Linked DNA regions of Homo sapiens: region 1 is linked to region 2. Evidence: promoter capture Hi-C in human tissues and cell types (Jung and others, 2019). All regions are on one chromosome and are shown on one strand. Each heading gives the region's core, a stretch centred on a gene start or on the middle of the fragment in contact. The rest is flanking DNA. Distances are from core to core; before and after follow the strand shown.

Region 1 (4,260 bases), core at 188-2,687, 130 kb after region 2:
TTGTTGGCACAGGCCTGTAATCCCAGCTACTGAGGAGGCTGAGGCAGGAGAATTGCTTGAAACCGGGGAGGCGGAGGTTGCAGTGAGCCGAGATCGTGCCACTGCACTCCAGCCTGGGCGACAGAGCAAGATTCTGTCTCAAAAAAAAGGGGTTCAAATGCTTTCTTTTCCATGCTGGTGAAGATGAAATGAGACAGTGAAGGTGGATAGTTCTAACCTAGAGCCTGGCACATGAACAACAGGAGCTCAACAGATGCCAAGCTCCTTCCTTCCTGGCTTTGCAGTGGGCTTTCCCTGTTTACTCTCTCCAACGGGGCATACACCTGTGGGCGCTCGTGCTCACTCATACCCGTGCACGTACACGTGATAGTGTCCCCCTTGCACCCCTGTTGAGACACATACTGAGTCAGAAATGGAAATTTTCCTCTCAACACCTCCCTAACTCTATTCATCAGCTTCCAGTTCCTATTCTCTGGGTCAGTGGGGACTCTCAAGTCCAGACTTGGGCCATGACCTTTCCAGTCTCCTGGTACAGTTCTTTCTTTTTTTTTTCTTTCTTTTTTTTTTTTTTTTGAGACGGAGTCTGGCTTTGTCCCCCAGGCTGGAGTGTAGTGGTGTGATCTCGGCTCACTGCAAGCTCCACTTCCCAGGTTCACACCATTCTCCTGCCTCAGCCTCCCGAGTAGCTGGAACTACAGGTGCCCGACACCACGCCCGGCTAATTTTTGTATTTTTAGTAGAGATGGGGTTTCACCGTGTTAGCCAGGATGGTCTTGATCTCCTGACCTCGTGATCCGCCTGCCTCGGCCTCCCAAAGTGCTGGGATTACAGGCGTGAGCCACTGCGCCCAGCCAGGTACAGTTCTAAAGGTGGCTGTTGAGTGGAGCCTGAGTGTCCCTACTGCCTCAAATCCTTCCCGCCATCAGCCAGGCCTTTACATTCCTCCCTCCCTGCCAGGACAACCTGTTTGCTTCACAGCTGCTGTGGAAAAGATAGGCAGCCTGGATTATCAAGACAGACAAGGCTCCTTGCTGACAGTTCCCACCCACCCAGAGGCAAGCGTTCCTGAGCCCTTAACCCCCTCTGTGCTGGGCCTTCAGGCCTAGGGACTGGGCACAGCAGGGAAGATGGGCAGGCCTGGTACCCTCTATATCGAATTCCTAAGGCTGGTGGGGTCATGAGCACAACAGGGTAGGAAACAGCATCACCTGCACACTCCAGGTGCCCATTCTATATACTAAGCCCTTTCCTTCCTGGGTTCATGGAAGTTCATGGTAAACAGGGCCTTAGCAGGCCTCTGAAGGCTCAGGCAGAATGCTCTATACTCTCCACTCTCTCTTCCTGAGGCTGGTTCCAGGCTCTGGGGACAGAGGCCTGGCTTTCTCCATTCCAGGGGTCCACTGGCATTAGTACAGGTGCTGAGGCATCCCCTCCTCACTCCCTACCCCCACATCATTGCCCCTTCCTCCTCTCCAGCACCCTTCAGATCTCTTTCAGCAAGGCCCCTCTCATCTTCTTGCTGAAGTCAGTGTCCCTGACACTAAGGCCAACCTGGACCATCTCCTAGTTGGGTCTCATTGCAGCCACTCAGGCCTCCTTTTCCTGAAGGTCAACAGGAAGCAGTGAAAAGACCAGTAGTGGGCCAGGCATGGTGGCTCATGCCTGTAATCCCAGCACTTTGGGAGGCTGAGGCAGGTGGATTGCTTGAGCCTCAGGAGTTCGAGACCAGCCTGGGCAACATGGTGAAACCCCATCTCTACTAAAAATACAAAAATTAGCCAGGCGGTGGTATGCAATTGTAGTCTCAGCTACTTGGGAGGCTGAGGCAGAAGAATCGCTTGAACCTGGGAGGTGGAGGTTGCAGTGAGCCGAGATAGTGCCACTGCACTCCAGCCCAGCAGAGCGGGACTCCATCTCAAAAAACAAACAAACAAACAAAAATTAGCCAGGTATGGTGGTGCATGTCTGTAGTCCCAGCTACTCAGGAGGCTGAGGTAGGAGGTTCACTTGAGCTTAGGGAAGTCAAAGCTGCAGTAAGTCGTGATGGTGCCACTGCATTCCAGCCTAGGCGACAGAGAGAGACTATCTCTCTATCTTGAAAAAAAAAAAGTCTGCTCCCTCAAATGTTTTTCCCATTTCAGTAAATAACAACTCCGTTCTTCCGTTCTTCCAGATGGGACGAAGATCTTGGAGGCAATTTATTTTCTTTTTTTGGACATGTTCCAGATTTTGATCTTCACGCTGGTTAGAAAGGTATATGCATTTATGAAATTTTATTATATGTAAAATTCACAAGATTTGTACCCCTTTCGCTATGTAAGTTATACTTCCAATTTAAAAGCAACCACTCAATTCCCTATTTTCTATGTATTAATCACAATTTTTTTTGTTTTGTTTTTTGAGACAGGGTCTTGCTCTGTCACCCAGGGCAAAATGCAGTCACCCAGGGCAAAATGCAGTGGCATGAACATGGTGTGTCCAGAATTGGTGGGTTCTTGGTCTCATTGACTTCAAGAATGAAGCTGCAGACCCTCGCAGTGAGTGTTACAGTTCTTAAAGATGGTGTGTCCGGAGTTTGTTCCTTCTGATGTTTGGACGTGTTCGGAGTTTCTTCCTTCTGGTGGGTTCATGGTCTGGCTGGCTTCAAGAGTGAAGCTGCAGACCTTCGCAGTAAGTGTTACAGCTCTTAGGGCGGCACGTCTGGAGTTATTGGTTCCTCCCGTCCGGAGTTGTTCATTCCTCCCGGTGGGTTCGTGGTCTTGCTGGCCTCAGGAGTGAAGCTGCAGACCTTCGCAGTGATTGTTACAGCTCATAAAGGCAGTGCGGACCCAAAGAGTGAGCAGCAGCAAGATTTATTGCAGAGTGAAAGAACAAAGCTTCCACAGTGTGGAAGGGGACCTAGCGGCTTGCCCGCAATTTATTTTCTTAATTAACTTTTTGCTGAAGTAGAACATATATTCAAAAAGTGCATGACTCATAAGTGAATTATCACAAAGTGAACACACCCATGTAATCACCATCCAGGTCAAGAAACAGGACATTCTCAGGGGGCTCCTGTGCCCTCTATTTCTGTCTCTTCTTCCCCAAAGGTGACCTTTAGCTGATCTAATGTCATAGATTAGCTTTGCCTGCTTTTTGGACTTTATATGGAATGATACAATCTATATTATTATTATTATTATTTTTTGAGATGGAGTCTCGCTCTGTTGCCCAGGCTGGAGTGCAATGGTGTGATCTCAGCTCACTGCAACCTTTGCCTCCCGGGTTCAAGCAATTCTCCTGCCTCAGTTTCCCAAGTAGCTGGGACTACAGATGTGCGCCACCACGCCCAGGTAATTTTTGTATTTTTAGTAGAGACGGGGTTTCACTATATGTTGGCCTGGCTGGTCTCGAACTCCTGACCTCAGGCAGTCCACCCGCCTCAGCCTCCCAAAGTGCTGGGATTACAGGCGTGAGCCACCATACCCGTCTATTATTATTTTTGGGACAGGGTCTCACTGTGTCTCCCAGGCTGGAGTGCAATGGTGCAATCTTGACTCACTGCAGCCTCAACTCAACGTCCCGGGCTGAAGCAATCCTCCCACCCCAGCCTCCCGAGTAGCTGGGACTATAGGTGCAAACCACCATGCCCAGTTAATTTTTTTTTTTTGTATCTTTTGTGGAGACAGGGTTTTGCCACACACTCAAGCAATCTGCAATCTGCCCACCTCATCCTCTCAAAGTGCTGGGATTACAGGTGTGAACCACCGCACCCAGCCCATGTCTGGCTTCTTTCACTCAACATTACGTTTGCAAGATTTATTCAAGTATTTGCATGTAGCAGTAGTTCATTTGTTTTTATTACTGCATAGTATTCAATTTCATGAATATGATACACATTTTTCATTCTACCATTGATGAACATTTGAGTTGTTTGAATTTGGGGGCCATTATTCATAATGCTGCTGTGAGTATTCTTGTACCCATATGTATGTATATTGCTGTTGGAGTGAGATGGTTGGGTCAAAGGGTATGCTTTTGTTCAGCTGTAGTAGATTCTGTCAAACAGGTTTCCAAAGTGGTTGTATTGACATATATTTCTACCAGCAGTGTATGAATGTTCCAATTGCTCTTCCTCCTCACCCATGCTTGATATTGTAACTTTTTTTTTCATTTCAGTCATTCTGGTAGGTGTGAAGTGATAATCTCATTTTGGTTTTAATTTGCATTTCCCTGATGACTAATGAAGTTATGCATGCTATTCCTGCCATTCTTTACTAT
Region 2 (4,335 bases), core at 1,273-3,772:
GCCAGTGCAGTTGGATGAGACACACCCTTACACGGTGACTTCCGTGTCCTGTTGCCATGGAAACACCCTCCTGGCTGTTCGATGTGAGTTGTAACTTTTCCCACTTCACCACACAGCCCAGCTGGCCCCTGTCCACACTCCCATCCCCAGTGTTCACAGATGGCCACATCACCAAAAGCATCTTTAGCCCCCAGATAAAAAAAGCAGAAGCTGCGGTTGAAAAGCTTCAAGCTTCCTGCCTGGGGTGGCCAAGGCTGGTGCTTCTTGGGCCTCATGGAAGGGCTGCCTCCACTGCTCCCCAGGGCTCACATGCATTCTTTCTCCTACTGCTGAGTCCCGTTGATGCTGAAACTCTCTTTCTGGCCTAACAGGGTCCAGAATCCAGGGCCCAGTGGGAGTGGGAGGTGGGTGATGATTTCTGGAGGCACTGCCCTCAGAAGCTGCAAGGGTTTCTCTTCGGTACCCTCCAGCGGTCACAGATGAGCCGGTCCCCCCCTGAGGCACCCGGATTCACCTCTGGACCACCCTGATATTGCTTCTCCTCTGAATGCTCTGAAAAGTGCAGGTGCCCAAGGCATGACTTGCAGCTGTCTCCTGGATTGTGTCATCATGGGGTATCAGGGCTGGCAAAACCCCTGCTCTGCTTTTGGCCTTGGATATGGAAACCTCAACCACTTTGTTCTCCTACCACCTCTTTGCCCTTCCTACCCCTTCCTCCCTTCAGTCAGTGTCCCCAGGGTCCAGCCTGGCTAGAGTTAGAAGGCAGACCTAGCCTTTGGAAGCAGGGTGGCCTCCAGAGCCTTGCCATAAAAAGGCTGAAGGCAGCCGGGCGCAGTGGCTCACGCCTGTAATCCCAGCACTTTGGGAGGCTGAGGCGGGCGGATCACGAGGTCAGGAGATCGAGACCATCCTGGCTAACGTGGTGAAACCCCATCTCTACTAAAAATACAAAAAAATTAGCTGGGCGTGGTGGCACGCGCCTGTAGTCCCAGCTGCTCAGGAGGCTGAGGCAGGAGAATGGCGTAAACCCCTCCAGCCTGGGCGACAGAACCAGACTCCGTCTCAAAAAAAAAAAAAAAACAAAAAAGGCTGAAGGCAGCTGTAGCTCCACACAGACCCTACCCTTTCCCCTAGCCCAGTTAGAAAATAAGTCTGGGCCGGCGGCGGTGGCTCACACCTGCATAGGCAGTGCTTTGGCCAGGAGGATCCCTTGATCCCTTGTGGCCAGGAGTTGGGAGACCAGCCTGGGGACCATAGCGAGACCGCTGTCTCCACCAAAAAAAAAAAAAAAGAAGAAAATAAGGCTGGGTGCGGTGGCTCACGCCTGTAATTCCAGCACTTTGGGAGGCCAAGGCGGGCGGATCACTTGAGGTCAGTAGACTGAGGCCAGCCTGGCCAACATGGTGAAACCCCGTCTCTACTAAAAATACAAAAATTAACCAGGCATGGTGACGGGCGCCTGTAATCCCAGCTACTCTGGAGGCTAAGGCAAGAGAATCCCTTGAACCCGGGAGGTGAAGTTTGCAGTGAGCCGAGATCGCACCACTGCACTCCAGCCTGGATGACAGAGCAAGTCTCCCTCTCAAAAAAAAAAAAAAAAAAAAAAAAAAAAAAGTATTTGGTGCTTACCGGGACTCTATCTCCATACTTTGGAGCAGGGCAAGCCAGGGCCTGCCTGGACTGGCCATTAGGCCTGCCTAGCTTCTGCATAGCCCGGGGCTGGGCGGTCCCCGGGAGTGCTGCCACCTCCCCTACACTTTCATCCTGAGGCAGGATTTGCTAGACGTCGGCTTGCCTCTCTTCCCCAGCAGGAGGGCAGGAGTCACTAAGTGCTGCAGAAAAGATCCGCGCTGGAGATTGCCCGTCCCCCCCATGCCTTTCCCCAGAAACAGTTGAGAGAATGGGTAGCTGGTGGGACCAGACCGGTTTCCCAGAGGACAGGAAGGCCAATAAAAATATCAGCTGCCTGCCTGGAGTGTGGTGTCTTCAAGGGTGGGGGTGGCGACCAGGCACCCCAGGACTGGGCTGGGCCCGACCTCGGTGGCAGGGCTGCGGCCAAGGGAGGAATGTGGGCGCAGCCGGAGGCTGGGGCCGAGGTTCCTCTGGCCCAGCGCCCAGTCCAGCCTCCCCGCCCCAGCTGGGCTCCCCGGAGCTGGTTGCCAGGCTTCGGCTGCCTAGCACCTGGAAGCTGGGGCCACGGTTCCTGGGCTGCTCACGGCCCCGGAGGCCGAGCTGTTGCCTCTGGAGAAGAAAACCTTTGTGGCGCGGCCCGTCCCCTTTTCCGACCCGCACTTCCCCGGGGCCCGCGGGCTCTGGGGAGAAGCGGAGCCACGATCTCTGTCCCCCAGGGGAAAGAAAAGCCCATGATCCCGTGGGTGGGCGAGACTGGCGGTCACCAGACCCAAAAACCATGCACTCGGGGGTGGGCGGGGCCGCGAGGGCGCGCATTAGGACCGCGCGGCCGCGGTCCGCCCTCTCTTCCGGAGGGCGGGCTTCACAGCCGAGCCCTGGCCGCGACCGCCAGTCGGCGCCGCCCGGAGCCGGGAGCGCCGCTCCAGCGAGGCGCGGGCTGTGGGGCCGCCGCGTGCCTGGCCCCGCTCGCCCGTGCCGGCCGCTCGCCCGCCATGCCTGGCTTCGACTACAAGTTCCTGGAGAAGCCCAAGCGACGGCTGCTGTGCCCACTGTGCGGGAAGCCCATGCGCGAGCCTGTGCAGGTTTCCACCTGCGGCCACCGTTTCTGCGATACCTGCCTGCAGGAGTTCCTCAGGTGCTGGCCGGGGAGCAGGGGACAGCGGGGGCGGGGCGGGGCGGGGGGCGCCGCCTGGGGAGGGTCTCGGGCCCGGGGCAAGGCGGGCCTTTGTCTGCGCTGCGACCCTGTGACCTCAGGGGCGCCCCGTGACGTCACGGGGAGGGATGACGTCAAGCCCCGAGGGAGGCCCCCCCCGCAGGAATCCGAGGGGTCCGGGCGGGTCCCAACTGCCCGGCCCGGGGCGGAAGACCTCGGCGCCTTCTCGTGGGGTCAGGAGGGGAAGAGGCCCTTCCCCGTCACCTGAGAGCCGGCGCGGCCTCAGCCTTGAACTTTGAATCCTGGGGGAAGAGGACAAAACCCGCTCCCGCGTGGCAGTTTGAGCCTCCGGAGCTTTCCCCCATCTAACCTCTTCTGATTCTTCGAACGTTCAGAGAACGGTAGCTATTGTTCTCCCATTTCACAGATCATGAAACGAGATTCAAAGAAAGGCTGCGACTTGCCCAGGGTCACATAGTTACTTAAAGGCTTAACTAGGATTTAAACCCGGACTGCTTATGATCACACAATGGAGGAAGGACTGAATCCTCCCCCGAAGAAGGACCCCTCTAGGCGGCTCCCCTCTCTCCCGGGGGCTGGAGTAAGGCGGGTGGTCCATAAGTCATGAAGAAGGGGGTCGCACTCGTGTTGTTACTGAACTCCCGCTGCCCTCTCAGGACGCAGGTTAGCCCTTGGCTCTTGGGCATCCATCAAGTTTCTGGGCGCCCTGTATGTCTTGAATCTCCTGCTCACGCAGGGAACCCCTCAGGCCCGGGTGTGGGAAGCAGGGTGAAGGAGCCCCGACTCTTCGGAGGTCATGCCCCCAGAGCGCAGGGGAAGGCCGAGTCGGCCACTGCCTGGCTGTTTGCTGGGACGAGGGGATCGAGGGCCTGGCAGGGATAGTACCTCTGAGACGCCTGCCTCCGGTGCTCCCTCCCGCCGTGCCTCCCTCCCTCGCTCGGTCCTCCGTAGCTCCTACTGGCGGAAATCTCAGCAGGCCCTTTGTTTTCTGTTCCCCACAGCCTGGGCCGGCTCCTGCCCTCACATATGCTCCGGCACAAGCTGCAGGACTGCCCCCTCCCCCTCGGCAGTGTACACATTTACTCTCCTACAGACACAGCCCCATTGTCTCCGCCACTGCTCTTCCCCGGCCCTCTGGGTTCCAGATGAGGCCAGCTGAGCCCCCCGACCCCCCCACAGCTGACCCACCCTGACTGCCTCGGGAAAGGAGCGGGGGAGGGGGCCGTCAGGCCGGATTCCTTCCACCACCTTCTTGGCCCCCCTCTCTGCCACTCCCCCTCCCGGAAATCCCCTCTTCCTCTCCCACTCCCACACCCCCTCCCCCCATCCTGTCTTCTTCCCTGGGCCTTGGCCTCCACTGCACAGCCTGGAGCAGCCTCTGCCCTGCCTGTCCCCCATCCCCCAGTGCCTGAGCTGTGCTGCTGAGGCTTCTGAAGGGGAGAGAGGTGGTTGGGTGGTCCCTGCTCCTCACCCGCCACGGTACAAGCACAAGTGAGGGTGTCCACAGCCCTGGCTGGGCCCCAAGCTGC

Evidence for each region. The method cuts DNA at HindIII sites, captures the fragments that hold promoters and counts their contacts. A contact is called where the count stands out against the background at its distance.
Region 1: a contact is called between a fragment that was not itself captured here and the fragment with the promoter of TRAF4 in region 2, in 1 of the 25 tissues and cell types used here (mesendoderm cells).

The regions. Positions count from the first base shown.
Region 1 is chr17:28,871,922-28,876,181 of GRCh38, forward strand. No RefSeq gene overlaps it. Among named protein-coding and RNA genes, the nearest start is that of MIR4732, 12 kb to the left of the region's middle. The HindIII fragment of the contact is 4,288 bases long and covers 1-3,581 here.
Region 2 is chr17:28,741,489-28,745,823 of GRCh38, forward strand. TRAF4 (TNF receptor associated factor 4) reads left to right here and starts at 2,523. Exons shown (of 7, transcript NM_004295.4): 1 at 2,523-2,767. The coding sequence starts at 2,625. NEK8 (NIMA related kinase 8) reads left to right here. Exons shown (of 15, transcript NM_178170.3): 14 at 1-83; 15 at 471-1,967. The coding sequence ends at 499. RefSeq lists enhancers at 304-463, 1,599-2,599, 1,623-1,917 and silencers at 1,623-1,917, 2,372-2,781, 2,802-3,001. The HindIII fragment of the contact is 18,595 bases long and covers 1-4,335 here.